Regions from separate parts of the Homo sapiens genome. Here region 1 is linked to region 2. Evidence: promoter capture Hi-C in 16 types of primary human blood cells and fetal thymus (Javierre and others, 2016). All regions are on one chromosome and are shown on one strand. The core of a region is centred on a gene start or on the middle of the fragment in contact, and the rest is flanking DNA. Distances in the headings are between cores, read along the strand shown. Region 1 has its middle 19 kb from the start of LINC01220. Region 2 holds the start of BATF (basic leucine zipper ATF-like transcription factor).

Evidence for each region. Contacts are between HindIII fragments. The CHiCAGO score rates a contact against its expected background, and 5 or more counts as called.
Region 1: a contact is called between a fragment that was not itself captured here and the fragment with the promoter of BATF in region 2, in 2 of 17 cell types (activated CD4 T cells and M1 macrophages). The highest score is 6.9, in activated CD4 T cells.

The regions. Positions count from the first base shown.
Region 1 is chr14:75,311,702-75,315,475 of GRCh38, reverse strand. No RefSeq gene overlaps it. Among named protein-coding and RNA genes, the nearest start is that of LINC01220, 19 kb to the right of the region's middle. The HindIII fragment of the contact is 780 bases long and covers 2,102-2,881 here.
Region 2 is chr14:75,520,485-75,524,136 of GRCh38, reverse strand. BATF (basic leucine zipper ATF-like transcription factor) reads right to left here and starts at 1,668. Exons shown (of 3, transcript NM_006399.5): 1 at 1,392-1,668. The coding sequence starts at 1,454. RefSeq lists an enhancer at 1,371-1,700. The HindIII fragment of the contact is 2,331 bases long and covers 1,121-3,451 here.

The DNA of each region.
Region 1 (3,774 bases), core at 1,242-3,741, 210 kb after region 2:
AGCTCTGAACAAGGTCTGTGCTAAGTCCTGGTTGGATTCGCCAGGGTCTAGGTTCATATTGTGAACACCAGGGTTGACGTCTCCCCAGATTTGGGAAAGCTAAATCTTGTCCCCACATGACTATAAAACCAGGAGCCTCTGTCGCTTTCTGCCCAACCAACTCCTCACAGCACTAAAGCTGAGCTTTTATATGTGAAAGGTGCTGGCCAAATTCCCAGAATAGCCACAGCAGGAAATTGAATAGCAAGATAAAAGTGTAACCATGTATTATACCCTTAATAGTGGAGGGAGAGAATGATACAACCATCAGTTCCAACCCATACAGAAGTCACTAGAGACAGGGATTTGAGAAGGAGTCCTCTGCTCTATTTAATAACTCTTCCCACTCCTCAAAAGGCACAGGGGGCTGGGTGCAGTGGCTCATGCCTGTAATCCCAGTACTTTGGGAGGCCAAGGCGGGAGGATTCCTTGAACTCAGGAGTTAGAGACCAGACTGTGCAACATAAGGAGACCTCGTCTCTACTAAAAATTTTTTTAAAAAAATTATTCAGGTGTGGTGGTGCATGCCTGTAGTCCTAGCTACTCAGGAGGCTGAAGCAGGAGGATCACTTAAGCCCAGGTGGTCGAGGCTGCAGTGAGCCATGACTGTGCCACTGCATTCCAGCCTGGGAGACAAAGCGAGATCCTGTCTCAAAAAAAAACAGAGACATGTTCTTGTTCTAGACTTTCTGTATTGCCCTACATCATCACCCCTCCTGGTTAGTAGGGAAACCTCTCCCCTTTGCCCCCTTTCTCTTATTTTCTCTATTATTTAGAATGCTTTTGGATGATGATAATTATTATTATTGATGATGATGATAGTAGCTAATATTTATTGGGTCATAGTTTGGGTTACCAGGAAGTGACTCTGAGAACAGCATTCAGGTTGTACAGTTGGGATCAACACCTGTAGAAAGAGAGGGGAAAAAAAGTGGGATTCAGCAAAGGGAGAAGTTTTAGAGGAGACAAATCAGTGAAACGAGTTTGCCTCCCCACGTTTCCCCAGTGTGTAGTTGAGACTGTTGTCTGAGCCAACACATGTTCACATTGTTCCCAGGTTCTCCCATCATGTAATGAGAATAATTCTATCATTTCTCACAAGGCGAGAGGGACACAAATGAAGAAAAGACCAAAACACAGAATTTGAAGCCAGTCTGCCTGGGTTCAAATCCCAGCTCTCCCTTGTACCATCTAGGTGATCTAGGGCAAGATGCTTGATCCTTCTGAGCCTCCATTTCCTCGTCCACTAAATGAGAATACTGTTACTAGCTACCGCACAAAGTTGTTGTGAAGATGAGTGAGGGATTATATGTAAAACACTGGGTGGAATGCCTGGCTCACAGGAAGCACTATGTGTTGGCTGTGGGACTGTACGGCCTTCAGTATTGAAGAAATCACTCATCATGCAACTCTCCTTCACTTATGCAACCACACACACACAACACCCACGTTACACACATACACATGCAACACGTGCAGCATACAGCACGTACTCAACAAAACATACACAGTACACATACATAAAGCAGCAAAGCCTTGTTTCATAAGTTGTCCTTTTTTTCTTTTTTTTTGAGAAGGAGTCTCGTGCTGTCGCTCAGGCTAGAGTGCAGTGGCGTGATCTCGGCTCACTGCAACCTCTACCTCCACCTCCTGAGTTCAAGCGATTCTCCTGCCTCAGCCTCCTGAAGAGCTGGGACTACAGGTGTGCACCACCATGCCCGGCTAATTTTTGTATATTAAGTAGAAACGGGGTTTCACCATGTTGGCCAGGCTGGTCTTGAACTCCCGACCTCAAGTGATCCACCTGCCTCCGCCTCCCAAAATGCTGGGATTACAGGCATGAGCCACTGCGCCCAGCCTCATACTCTGTTCTTTGTGTACTTTGTGGTTTCATTCCATTTTAAAGCCAAATCTCTGCTAATACACACCCATGATGCTCATTGTTCTTCCCCATTGCATGTCATTGTGACATCATGCAATGCCATGATAAGGCGATTTACCAATTGCACATTCTAATTGCTCTCAGAGCATAATATTCATTAGCAATTTTCTTTCATAAGCTTCTTAGCAATAATGTTTCCTCCAATGCAGTATAGCATTCAAAGGTGGAACTTTGGAGTCAGATGAACTTGGGTTGAAATCCTGACATTACTACTTACCAGCTTTGTGACTTGAGGCAAGCTGCTAAACTTCTCTAGCTATAACATTATTCTCATTTTATCAATCAGGAAACAAAGAACCAGAAAGACCAAATCAGTAATCGTGAGTCTCATATTGTTATCTATAAAAAAGCTGCACCTTGCAAGGAATGAAAAGATAAGGTGTGTACCACATTTAAATTGGTGCTTGCCACATGCTAATATATGCTAATAAAACATTTTGTAATGATAAAAGTGATGGTAGTGATGAATGGCTTATTTCTTTATTTTATTTTATTTGAGTCGGAGTCTCACTCTGTTGCCCAGGCTGGAGTGCAGTGGTGTGATCTCAGCTCACTGCAACCTCCGCCTCCCAGGTTCAAGTGATTCTCCTGCCTCAGCCACCCGAGTAGCTGGGATTACAGGCATCCACCACCACACCCAGCTAATTTTTGTATTTTCAGTAGAGACAGGGTTTCACCGTGTTGGCCAGGCTGGTCTCGAACTCCTGGCCTCAAGTGACCTGCTTGCCTCAGCCTCCCAAGGTGCTGGGATTACAGGCGTGAGCCACTGCACCCGGCCAATGGCTTATTTCTTTAAATAGAAAAAAGAAATGCATTGAATAAATCATTGACAGTTAATGGGACTCTCTGGTGATGAACCTGGGTTCTACCCATGCCTGGAGGCTCCAGGTCCCATAAGCTTCCACCCAGCATTGTGTTGTAACTGTACCATTTCCCTTCATGAAATTTGAGAGGTGATGTTTTGACATTATTTCATTTTGTTTCATTTCCTCTTGATGGGTGGGCTTAACCTGTTTCTCAATTTAGGCAGAGCAAAAGGGAGAAGTATTTTAAATTGCCATGATAGTCCAAGTTGGTCTTACCTTCAGGCCCCTGAGCACGAGCCCAAAATTCTCTCCAACTCTCCTACGGTATTTGGGTATTTTCCAATTCCTAGAAATGCCAGATATAAATAACCCTTTCCTTAGTTTCCTCCAAAACTCTCCCTTTCTCCTTTCCTTTTGCCTCTTGGCATTTGGGTACCATAACAATGAATTTTGAAATAATACTTTAATCACATTTTATATTCTTGGCCAGGCTCAGTGGCTCATGCCTATAATCCCAACATTTTGGGAGGCCCCATCTCAAATTAAAAAAAAAAAATTACATTCTTATGGTGCATTTCTGTTCACTAAATGCATTCATATCCACTCTTCACAGTTGGCAGTAAGGAAGATAGTGTAAGTTCCATTTGATGGATGATACAGCTGAGGTTCAAAGAGGTGAACCCACGTGCCCTCGATGCTGGCCTTCAAGCCAACACCATTTCCTGCTGCAGCAAGAAGACAGTCTTTACTGACAGACACATTTATTTTTATTATGGTAAAATATACATAACAAAGTTTACTGTTTGAAACTTTTAAAGTCTACAGTTGAGTGGCATTAAGTACATTCGCATTGTTGTGCAACTCTCATCACCATCATCTCCAGAATGTTTCATCTTCCCAAATTGAAACTTCATACTCATTAAATACTCACTCCCCATTTTCCCCTCCCCTCGGCCTCTGGCAATCACCCCTCTACTTTCTGTCTGT
Region 2 (3,652 bases), core at 419-2,918:
CAACTCATGCCCTGTTCCCTTCCACGTCTCCCACAGGCTAGAGGGGCACAGATCCAAGGGCAAAGCTCTGGGATCACTAAGTACTGGGCTCACCAACATGTCCAATACTTTCAGGCCTTTGTGGTAGGAGGTCATTGGCATAGATAGGAAGGAAGTGCTCTTCCTCTAAGGGGGATGGGGCACCAGGTTACCATGGAAGCCATGAGTAATTTCCTTCCTAAGAAAAGTACAAACTTCCAGGCAGTCAGAGCCACTCTGACACCATCTTGAGCAGCAGACTGGATTCTGTGCCTTCTAGAGGTCTCCACCCAGACTCATCCCAGCCTGCTGCTCCGTTATTAGAGGCTTAGGATATACGCCCTGTTCAATATTTATATACTTTTATTTTGGCTGCAGCATTTTGAAAACCCTTGTGGATATCTGTGCTAAGGAAAGAATGAAGTTTTTAAACTATGAAGGTTGAGAAAATTTTAACCCACGGATACATGTCGGATGAGAAAGAGGAGGGCTTCCTACAGCAAGGGATGTCAAGAGTGTGGTGCAGAACAAAACCCTAGAAGCTGTGAGATGGGCAGGGCACTCCTTTTTTGGTAATCCTCAAGCTAAAACCTTTGGACTTGGAAGTCACAATCTAGACTCCAAATGCTCCCACAATCCCTATCTCAGTCTCTCTGGTTTCCCCAGAGCTAAGATGAACTACCAGCAAATGTCTTCCAACAAATTTCCAGAGCCACCTCCTCATTCATTTCCTTGCTCCTATCCAGAAGCCACAAGCAAAGAGATATTGGCTGGACCTCTAGCATCTCCCCTTGCTGGCTGTGCTAGCAACAGAGGCAGTGCCCCAGTAGAGAGATCCTTCTATGCTAGCCTGGGTTTCTCCTCCTCCTCCTCCTTCTTCCTCTTCTTCTTCTTCTTTTTTTTTTTTTTTAACTTTTCCCTAACCCCTTTTCTCCCCTTCCCTATTGGCTGTCTCCTGGGAAACTGCATATCTAGGATTTGAGCTGTGCATGCCAGCGGCCCACTTGAAAACTCCTCTCACTTTTCTACAGCCTTGGAGAACAGTAGACTCTTTTCTCTGCATTCTTTGATGTTCATCCTCCTCTTTGCTTCCTAGAAAGCTTTTTAGGGTGGCAACCCCAGTGAGGCAGAGGTGATAGGCAGCCTTGGAAAATGGAGAGAAAAAGGGGCTTTGGCAGAATGGGTGGAAGGATGAGGATCTCTGCCAATATGCACAGCTTAGTAGCAAATTCCATGTCCTAAGTCTAACAGAGTGCCCGTGCAACGAGCCACTTCCTCCATCCTCAGCTCCCTGGGCAGGACAAGGAAGCCTGGCTCTCTTTCCATCCCCCAGGAGAATCAGAAGGTAGGAGAGAGAAAAAGGAGGACTCTACCTGTTTGCCAGGGGGAGGAGAGCGGCTGAAGCTGGAGTCACTGCTGTCGGAGCTGTGAGGCATGGCTGAAATCTTCCGGGCTCTCACACTCAGCCCCAGGCACCTCTGGGCTCTCTTGTCACCAGCTGGGCTCCCTTCCTGACTTCTCCTGGGCCACCAGCCCACCACCCCCTACAGGTGCCTCCTCTGCCTGCCCTGTAGCCACCTCTGACCCCTGCGTCCTCCTCACTCTGGGGTGCAGAGGGACTGCTCCCCAAAGGGACATGTCGCTCGCTTTGGGGCTTGCACGCTCTCTCTCTCTCTTGTGGTTTCTGGTAACTCACGCTGGAAGTCACATGGGCGGAAACTTCAGCGAGTTAGAAGTTAGAGAGAAAAATACATATCTGGGAAAAGACCTACAGAATTATGTGAAAGAAAAAAAAATACAGATACCTTCCGACAGTTTGAAAGACACAGCAGCCCTCTTCAATTGATGAAGATAAAAGAGAAAAACAGCCCAGGCAGGGAAAAACCCCAGCCAGAATTAGCAAGTCCGTCTTCTGTCAACATGGGCAGAGAGGAGAGGACAACCAGGAAAATGTTTCCATTGTCATACGACTTGATTTTTAAACCAAAATAAAGCAAAAACACTGGGATTTCTTTCTGGTTTTCAGCCGAAAGCAGCTGCTCACCCATCTTGTCTTTCCTCACCCCTTAAGTCCAGCCAGCCTCGGGGTGGTCTGGAGATAAGACGATCCAAGGGTATTCTCCTTTCCTGACCATCAAACACAAGGGCTGTGGGAGATCAGAAAGCCACAAGGGAGGTTCTAGAATTGCTGCTCTGAAAGCCTATTAAGCGCCTGTGCTGCTTGGCAGGGAGCTCACACTCTTTAGAGAAAAGATGCCTTCCATATTGAGCAGCTCAAGACAGGCCCTGAATCTTTATGATTCAAGGTCACCTGGTCAGAACCCAGAATGCAGAAACAGTTAAAAAAAAAAAAGAAAGAAAGAAAGAAAGAAAAAGTGAAACAAATACTACACTTGGAGTCAGACCAACCAAGATTTAAATTCTGGTTCTACCACTTTGTATGTCTGTGGCCCTGGGTAGCTCACTTGAGCTATGTGACCTTCATTATCTTCATCTGTAAACAGAGGATGATAAAACCTGCCCTGCCTACCTCTTAGGAATGTGGCACAAAGCAAATGACAACGCGGATTAGAATGCCCCGCAGACTCTGAAGTAAATGACCGAGAGGGTAAGTGTAGGGTATTCCCAGCCTTGCCATGAGCGCATTTGTAGGGTTCTCAGTGATCAATTCAACCCTCACCTGGGCATCGTGGCTTTTTCAAAAGGCCTTACCTTATTCCCAGTATGGCTCGAAGCCAAACATTTGCCTTATTAAATTTTAGGATTGACAGGAAGTTACGGCTCCTAGAGGATTTTTGTATCCATGAGCTGAATTTCTAGACTAAGACAATATTGCCCTAAGGTTAAATTAAGTAAGACAAAATTCCTTTCCTATGGAGGAAAATAAAGCAGGGTTGGAGGTTAGGGAATTCTGGGTGGTCAGAAGGGCCTTGCCCAAAGAGGGGATACCTGAGCAGAGATTCGAAGAAAGAGAGGGAGTGAATGGTGAGTGTCTCAGGGAAGGACATTCCAGGACCTGAGGTGGAAGTGTGCTTGAGTATTGGAAAAAGAGCAGGGGGGCCAGGTAGTTGGATATCAGAGGCAGCAAAAGTGGCAGGCGATGAGGTCAGTGAGGTAATGGCCCGGTCAGGGAGGGCCTTAGAGGCCAACATCAGGATTTTAGCTTTCATTCTGAAAGACACAGTGAGCCCATGGAGGGTTTCCCCTTCCACCTTCATTCTTATCCTCTACCTCAGCTACTATTCATTTCTCCCATAGCAGTTACCCAATTTTATACTTATTTTATTCGTTTACTGATTTATCTTTTTCCTGTTTCCCTCAATAGAATGTTAAAACCATTTACACCTTTATTAATATATTCAACAAACGTTCATGGTGCATCTACCATGTGCCAGGCACTAAGTACTGAGGATACAGTTAGTAAAAAGAAGCTTGACTTTTTGTCTAAATGAGATAGTCTATCAGTGTTCGCTGCCCAAAAAACTACCAGAAACTTCGATGACTCAAGCCATTTATTTGGCTCATGAGTCTGTGGGTCATCTGAAAGGTTCTTTGGGGATAGGCTGGGCTAGGCTGATCTCGGCTAGGCTCGGTCATGTGTCCTCAGACAGCTGGTAGGTTGGCTGATAATTGA